Regions from separate parts of the Homo sapiens genome. Here region 2 is linked to region 1. The links are contacts of gene promoters, found by promoter capture Hi-C in blood cells and fetal thymus (Javierre and others, 2016). All regions are on one chromosome and are shown on one strand. The core of a region is centred on a gene start or on the middle of the fragment in contact, and the rest is flanking DNA. Distances in the headings are between cores, read along the strand shown.

Region 1 (3,955 bases), core at 314-2,813:
TCAAACAACAACAACAACAACAACAAAATTGGCTGGTGTGGTGGCACGCGCCTGTAGTCCCAGCTACTCGGGAGGCTGAGGCAGGAGAATCGTTTGAACCCAGGAGGCGGAAGTTGCAGTGAGCCACCACTCCAGCCTGGGCGATAGAGTGAGACTCCGTCTCAAAAAACAAATAAATAAATAAATAAATAAAAAGGGTCCCCAAATGCACTTTGGTAACTATTAGAAGAGGCAAGGAGGAAGAAGATAATCCCTCAAGACTAGAATTATGTCTGACAGTCTCTTTTCCTAAAACCCGTCTTGATTGGCCTAAACAGACACCAATCAAGGCCCCATCTGTGTCTACTAGGAAGTGGTTTTGAGATTTCTCTCATCTTGAGAGAATCCAGGGCTGCGCCTGCTCTGCTGTCTAGGTCAAGACTTCACCCTCTTGTCTTGTGGATCATCCTCCAAAGACCCTCGGGTTGAGATTTTGCCTTCATCTCTCCTGCCCCTCAATTAGATAACACCTGGCCAATTCCTGTCATTTCAGAAAGCGGGAACACCTTAAGCATCTTTCCTCAACGATCTCTGCTTCTCTCAAAAAGATAGGTTTCTCCATCCCCTGACCGAGCGGGTTACTTTGTTCTCCACCTAGACATCAAGAGGCACCTAGACACCTTCCATCCCCTCAGGTTTGGACGCTGCTCTTTCGTACTTCAGGAGGCTCTAGGAGTCTTCCTACCACGCGCTCATCTGTGGGGAGACCTGGGCCTGCTCACTTCCCCTTAGAGCTCCTCTTCCTTCCCTGCCTTTGGAAAAAACCTGCCCTTTTTTCCCTTGTTCTGAGTGGCCGAGGCCTCTACCGCGCCCCTCGGGATAAGCTGGACTCTGCTCTCCTCAGAAGAACCCACTCTGTACTCTTGCTCTCCCGCCAAGGCTCCGAGAGGGTCTCCTCCCAGGCGGGCATCCGGGCTTCCAGCACCTATCGTCCCCCTCCCACTGGGCAGGACCCAGGCCTCCAACCAGCTCCTCATCCAAGGGCCCGGTGCTCCCCGGACCCCGCCTTTGGGGATACCCCAGGCTCCCCGGACCCCTCGATGGGGTCCTGGGCGCCTGGCCCTCTCAGTCCGGAGTCACTCCGGCCCCTCCTGGCCCCTGAGCCGAGTACTTCCGGGCCCCTCGGTCCGGGGGCGCCGGGGCCCCCCCAGTGGTGGACTCGCCGGTTCCCGCCGCCCTGGTCTGGGGCCCGAGCCCCGGCGGCGCGGCCGGCTGCGCTGGGGGCGGCCCGGCGGCTCGGGCGGACCCAGCGGCAGCGTCCCCCCACCCCCCCGCGGCGCCGCGACGTCCGCTCGCTCCCCGGCGGCGGCGGCGGCACGCACAGGGCGTGGGGAGGCGCCCGCGGAGGCAGCAGCCCCCCGCCCCCTGCGCGCCCGCCCGCCCTCGCCGGCCGCCGCGCGGCCCCCGCGCCCGCCCCCCCGCCCCCACCCCACCCCGCGCCCGCGCGCCCACCCCTCCCCCTCCTCACCGTCTCCGTCGGGCGGGCGGGCGGCGAGCGGCCAGGGCGGGCAGGCGACGGAGCATGCGCAGAGGCCGCCACGGCAGCTACCGCCACCGCCGCCGCCAGGCCGGGCTTCAACACTTCCGGCCGCCGCCGCCGGAGAGCTGGCGCCTTAAAGGGGACGCGTCCCTATTGCCGGTCCCACCGAGGATTAACCTTAGCCAAGGGATTTGGGCCTTACCTAAGCAGAATTCTTTCGCCCTTGAAAATCAGTGTTGGAAAGGTCGCTAGAGACCCCAGTAACTCTCCTTCCCGCACTCATAGATGAGGAAAATAGGCCCTAAATGAAAGAATCACCTCAACCACAATTGAGGGCCAAGCTAGCTTTCTCGACTCCTCTGGAGGACTCTACTCCATTTACCTCCCCAAATCCTGTTTTATGAAGTTTACATCTTATCGGACCCTTCAAGTTACAATCCAGCTATCAGTTTGCAATCAGAAGATCTGCATAGATCAGTAACTGGTCACGAGTCCTTGAGCAAGCCCTAAGCATTGTCTGACCCGTGCCTGTTTGCCAAGTTTTTCCTGCTTGTGAGTTTCTGGGTTGAAGTCTTGACTCCCCTGCTGGAAGTGTAAACGACTCTGGAGGAATTTCTTGACAGCTCTAAACCTGTTTCCGATAAGACATAATGTGAGTGCTAAAGAAGGTGATACCTGCATGAAAAGTGCTTCAGAGAGTTCCTGGGGTCAGTAATAGTAATTAACAAGTATTAAGACCTTTATTTTTTATTTATTTATTTATTTTTTTAGACAGAGTCTTGCTCTTTGGCCAGGCTGGAGTGCAGTGGCGCGATCTCGGCTCACTGCAGCTTCAGCCTCCTGGGTTCAAGTGATTCTCCGGCCTCAGCCTCCCGAAGAGCTGGCACTAGAGGCGCGCGACACCACGCCCGGCAATTTTTTTTTTTTTTTGTATTTTAGTAAAGACAGGATTTCACCATGTTGGCCAGGATGGTCTCAATATCTGACCTCATGATCCACCCGCCTGGGCCTCCCAAAGAGCTGGGATTACAGGCGTGAGCCACCGCGCCCGGCCGTATTAAGACCTTTCTATGGCCAGGTGTGGTGGCTTACGCCTGTAATCCCACACTTTGGGAAGCCGAGGCGGACAGATCACTTGAGACCAGGAGTTCGAGACCAGCCTGGGCAACATGGTGAAACCCCGTCTCTACTAAAAATACAGAAATTAGCCGGGCGTCGTGGCACGCGCCTCTAGTCCCAGCTACTCAGAAGGCTGAGCCAGGAGAATCACTTGAACCCGGGAGGCGGAGGTTGCAGTGAGCCGAGATCAGGCCATTGCACTCCAGCCTGGGCAACAGAGTGAGACTCTATCTCAAAAAACAAACAAACAAAAAGACCTTTCTATGGCCTATGGCTTGGTGAAGATGCTTCTGTCTTGTATAATCCTCACAGCAACCCTACTAAGTAAGTTTCTCTTTTTTTTTTTTTTTGAGACGGAGTCTTGCTCTGTCGCCCAGGCCGGAGTGCAGTGGCGCAATCTCGGCTCACTGCAAGCTCCGCCTCCTGGGTTCACACCATTCTCCTGCCTCAGTCTCCTCAGTAGCTAGGACTACAGGCGTCCGCCACTACGCCTGGCTAATTTTTTTGTATTTTTTAGTAGAGACAGGGTTTCACCGTCTTAGCTAGGATGGTCTCGATCTCCTGACCTTGTGATCCGTCCGCCTCAGCCTCCCAAAGTGTTGAATTACAGGCGTGAGCCACCGCGCCCGGCCCTTCTTTTCTTTTCTTTCTTTTTTTCTTTTTTTTGGTGGGGGGGACCGGTCTGGGTTGATCTCCCAGGCTGAGTGCAGTGGCGGGATCTCGGCTCACTGCAGCCCCAGCCTCCAGTGCTCAAGCAGTCCTCCTGCCTCAGCCCCCGGAGTAGCTGGGACCACAAGCAGGAACCACCATGCCTGGCTAATTTTTACATTTTTAGTAGAAATGGGGTTTTACCATGTTGCCCACTCTGGTCTCTAACTCCTGGGCTCAAGCAATCCTCCTGCCTTGGCCTCCCAAAGTGCTGGGATTACAGGTGTGAGCCACCATAATTGTTTGTTTATTGATTGATTGATTTGGAGACGGAGTCTCGGTCTGTGCAGTGGTGCGATCTTGGCTGCCTCCCAGGTTAAAGCGATTCTCCTGCCTCAGCCTCCCGAGTAGCTGGGACTACAAGCACGAGCCACCACGCCTGGTTAATTTTTTGTATTTTTAGTAGAGACGGGGTTTCACCGTGTTGGCCAGGATGATCTCGATCTCTTGACCTCATGATCTGCTGCCTTGGCCTCCCAAAGTGCTGGGATTACAGGCATGAGCCATCGCGCCCAGCCAATTTTTGTATTTCTGGTAGAGACAGGGTTTCACCATGTTGGCCAGGATGGTCTCAATCTCTTGACCTCGTGATCCTCCTGCCTCAGTCTC
Region 2 (4,418 bases), core at 1,291-3,790, 540 kb before region 1:
ATAGTAAATATTTTAGGCTTCGTAGGCTATATCATCTTTGTGACTACCCAACTCTACTATCGTAAACAGCCACAGGCAATATATAAACAATTGAGTGAACATGGCTGTGTTCCAATAAAACTTTATTTACAGGACCAGGCATGGTGGCTCATGCCTGTAATCCCAGCATGGGAGGCCAAGGCGGGCAGATCGCTTGAGTCCAAGAGTTCAAGAATGGCCTGGGCAACTTGGTGAAAGTCCATCTCTACAAAAAATTAGCGAAGTGTGGCAGCGTACACCTGTAGTCCCAGCCACTGGGGAGGCTGACATGGAAGGATAGCTCGAGACCAGGAAGCAGAAGTTGCAGTAAGCCACACTCCAACCTGGGCAACAGAGTAAGACTCTTGTCTCAAAACAAAAAAAAAAAAAACCCTTTATTTACAAAAACAAGTGGTGAGGCAGATTTAGCCCACAGGCCACAGTTTGCTGACCCCCAAGTTCAACAATGGAGATGGTTAAGGGTCAGTTGCATATGACTGAGGAATTGGGAATCCTCAGAGCTAAAGTCTGGGAATTAGCATCATTAAAGGAAAACAATGTGTGTTATACACCCACTGTGTACTAGGCATAGTGATAGTCTCTGTACAAATGTCTTTAGTTTAATCTTCACACTATGACATAAGTGTTACTCTCTGCATTTCACAGATTAGGGAAATGGAAACTCAAAAAAGGTGAAGTGATCATTCAAAGTCACACACTAGTGAGTGGTAGAGCCAGGGTTTTTAAGCAGGTCTCTCCAACTTCAAGCCTAAGAGTTCTACTTGAAACCCTGAAAGCCCTTGTCTCTGACCACGGGTGCTGCCTCCCTCCCACCCAGAGTCTCTTGAGAAGAGGATTAGGGACTGCTAAGCCCCAGAAATCCATATCAAGGGTTGGATTTCCATTGTCGTGCCATAAGGGGAATTAGAAAATGCCCTGGATTTCATACATAGAAAGCCCTGCACTAAGCATTTGGTGCACGGTAGAGTACAGTAAGTGTTAGCTGAGATGAATGGGAACGATGATTTGAAGGCCAGTCCGGGGGAAGCCCACAGGATGCTGGGGCACTTCCTGGATTACAGAGGAATCCTCGCCTTTTCAGTCTCTTATTTTCTCAGCCATAGACCTACTCTAGGATTGACACAGCCTTCTATAAAAAGTGTTCCTGGGCCGGGTACAGTGACTCATGCCTATAATCCCAGCACTTTGGGAGGCCAAGATGGGCGGATCACGAGGTCAGGAGATCGAGACCATCCTGGCTAACACAGTGAAACCCCATCTCTACTAAAAAATACAAAAAAATTAGCCGGGTGTGGTGGCGGGCACGTGTAGTCCCAGCTACTTGGGAGGCTGAGGCAGGAGAATGGCGGGAGCCTTGGAGGCAGAGCTTGCAGTGAGCTGAGATCGTGCCACTGCACTCCAGCCTGAGCGACAAAGCAAGACTCCATCTCAAAAAAAAAAAAAAAAGTGTTCCTGCCTCCTGTCCCCAGTTCTTGGTCCCTAAAGCCCACATTGACATCCCCGTTTCCTATAGCACAGTTAGTGATTACCCAGGCTGCCCCCTGCTTCCCACAGCTGACCCACATAGGACCAGGACACCATTAGAATCCCAGCAACTGGATAGTGAGCAGGCATGCCCAAGAGCTTTGGAAGCATAGGCCAAGGGCCCCGAGCTGCCACTGTGACCAGATGCTGAGCCAACAAGGCTCCAAGCAATTTCCCTAAGGTGACACAGTGAGGACACTGTGGAACCAAGGCTGGAGTCTCTCTGACTCCAAAGCCTACCCTCTTCACCCCTTCTTCATACAAGATCCTGCCTGTGTGAGTGCAGACCCCTCACGCAGTCCTCACCAAATCCTATTGATTCTGTCTTTAAAATAGAACTCAAATCCATCTTCTGTTCCTCATCCCCACTGCCAAAGTCCCAGACTAGGCAGCCATCATCTCATACCTCGACCCCCACAAAGACCTCTGGCTTCCACGCTGCCCCTCCCCACTCCACAGTCTTCACCCAGCAATAAAGTGATCTTAAAGCATACATCGGATCATCTCAGTCTCCTCTTAAAGCTTGTTACAGGCTTCCCACTCACTCATTCACTAAAACAAGATCAGTTCTCCATACCACAGTGCTGAGGTCATGTTCTCATACCACAGGTTGTGACCCATTCGAGAAATCAATCTAGTGAGTTGCAAATAGCACTTTTTAAAATTAAAGTTGAGCAGAAAAGAATGAAAAATAGCAGAGTATCACACATAGTAAGGGTAAGTATTCTGTGAAACACAGGCTTGTGTTACACGTACATTCATGTATGTATATGTACGAATTCACAGTGGAACTCATGGTTACTGTGGGTCAGAATTCTGAAAGTCTAATATCACCTGCCCGGCCCCTGCTGCATCAGCCAGGCCAGCCATGTCTCAAGCCACTCTTCCCATCACTCTCCACCCTGCGGTGCAGCATCATCCCATCCCAGTCCTTTGTCCTGCTACAGCATCTCTGCATCTGCTGCATGCCCTACCTAAGATGTTCTTTGTGTGCTCTGAGACGGTAGCACCTCTATCCTTTCACTCTTAGCCTGTCACCTCCTCAGAGAAGTATCCTTGACTCCCATCTAAAGTAATTCTCTTGATGTTCCTGTCTCTTTATAATTTATCATTATCATATCTGCTTTTTTTCACCTGTTCGACTCCACTAGAATGAAACTAAGGAAACTGTCTGTATTGTTCAAGTGCCTGGGTGCAAGATAAATATCTGTAGATGGAAGGAAGGCAGCCCAGATACCCAGGTTCCAGCTCCAACTCTGCCTAGATAAGCCAGGGGGCTCTGGGCAAGTCACTTCCTCATTTCCTCCCCTGTTGCATGAGGGGTTCAAAGTCGATGTTCGATAAGGGCCTTCTCAGTACTGACATTCTAGAATTCTTTTGTCTGGAACTGGAATGTGGGCTGGGAGTTGATGCTCATTTCTTTCAAGCTTATAGAATTTTTCATTTCCTTATCTCATTTGATTTCTACAGTAGCTCCTGGAGGAGGCGAGTCAGGCTGTTCTTGCCTGTGCTATTTACACATTAGAGTAACTAAAACTCAGTGACAGGAATTTTCTCAAACTAGCAGAATAGCAAAACCAGGTTTGGCATCTGTGCTCTTGACTTCTACTTTTATGCTTTGTTGCCTAAAACTACCTGAGTCAGGCCGGGCGCAGTGGCTCACGCCTGTAATCCCAGCACTCTGGGAGGCCGAGGCGGGCGGATCAGCTGTGGTCAGGAGTTCGAGACCAGCCTGGCCAACATGGTGAAACCCATCTCTACTAAAAATACAAAAATTAGCCGGGCGTGGTGGCAGGTGCCTGTAATCCCAGCTATTCGGGAGGCTGAGGCAGGTGAATCGCTTGAACCCAGGAGGCAGAGGTTGCAGTGAGCCGAGATCATGCCATTGCACTCCAGCCTGGGAGACAAGAGCAAGACTTCATCTTAAAAAAAAAAAACATGTGAGTCAACCTGCTCTGGATGAGAAGAATGAGGACTGTGTAGGAAAAAGGGGGCTTTCTCAGCTTCTCCTGCCCTGGTGGTAATGTTACTACTGTCTTACCCTTAGATTGCAGCAGTTTGAGGTCATTAACTACCTGCACGGTGACATTAACTAAATCTAATGGTAACTCAGAGAAGCAGCCTCTCTGAATCGCCCTTACAATGGTATTTGGCATATTTTGTTTTGGTTTGTTTTTTGTTTTTTGGGTTTTTTTGAGACAGGTTCTTGCTGTGTCACCGAGGCTGGAGTGCAGTCACACAATCATAGCTCACTGTGTCCTTAAATTACTGGGCTCAAGCAATCTTCCCACTTCAGCCTCATGAGAAGCCGGGACTGCAGGGCATTATGCCCAGCTAATTTTTTTTTTTTTTTTTTCTGTAGAGACAAGGTCTCACTATGTTGCCCAGGCTGGTCTTGAGCTCCTGGCCTCAAGCAGTCCTCCCACCTTGCCTCCCAAAGTGCTGAGATTATAGGCATGAGCCACCACACCCCATTTTTACTACATGTTTAAGATAAGAATGACTGTCTATTTTGGGCCAGGCACAGTGGCTCATGTGTGTAATCCCAGCACTTTGGGAAGCCGATGCAGGCGAATCACCTGAGACCGGGAGTTCAAGACCAGCCTGACCAACAAGGCAAAACCCTGTCTCTACTAAAAATAAATAAATTAGCCATGTATGGTAGTGCATGCCTGTAATCCCAGCTACTCAGGGGGCTGCAGCATAAGAATCACGAACCCAGGAGGCGGAAGTTGCAGTGAGCCAAGATCGCGCCATTGCACTCCAGCCTGGGCTACAGAGCAAGACTCTGTCTCCAAAAAAAAAATTAAAAAGAATAACAATCTATTGTGCATAATTATCATGAGGACTCAGAC

Evidence for each region. Contacts are between HindIII fragments. The CHiCAGO score rates a contact against its expected background, and 5 or more counts as called.
Region 2: a contact is called between a fragment that was not itself captured here and the fragment with the promoter of GMEB1 in region 1, in 1 of 17 cell types (neutrophils). The highest score is 5.1, in neutrophils.

Annotation. Positions count from the first base shown.
Region 1 is chr1:28,666,392-28,670,346 of GRCh38, reverse strand. GMEB1 (glucocorticoid modulatory element binding protein 1) reads right to left here and starts at 1,563. Exons shown (of 10, transcript NM_001319674.2): 1 at 1,508-1,563. RefSeq lists enhancers at 322-381, 432-481 and silencers at 1,012-1,301, 1,312-1,421, 1,452-1,591. The HindIII fragment of the contact is 26,935 bases long and covers 1-3,955 here.
Region 2 is chr1:29,207,080-29,211,497 of GRCh38, reverse strand. The region is part of intron 3 of MECR (mitochondrial trans-2-enoyl-CoA reductase); the gene reads left to right. Among named protein-coding and RNA genes, the nearest start is that of MECR, 22 kb to the left of the region's middle. RefSeq lists enhancers at 890-1,009, 1,778-2,279. The HindIII fragment of the contact is 905 bases long and covers 2,088-2,992 here.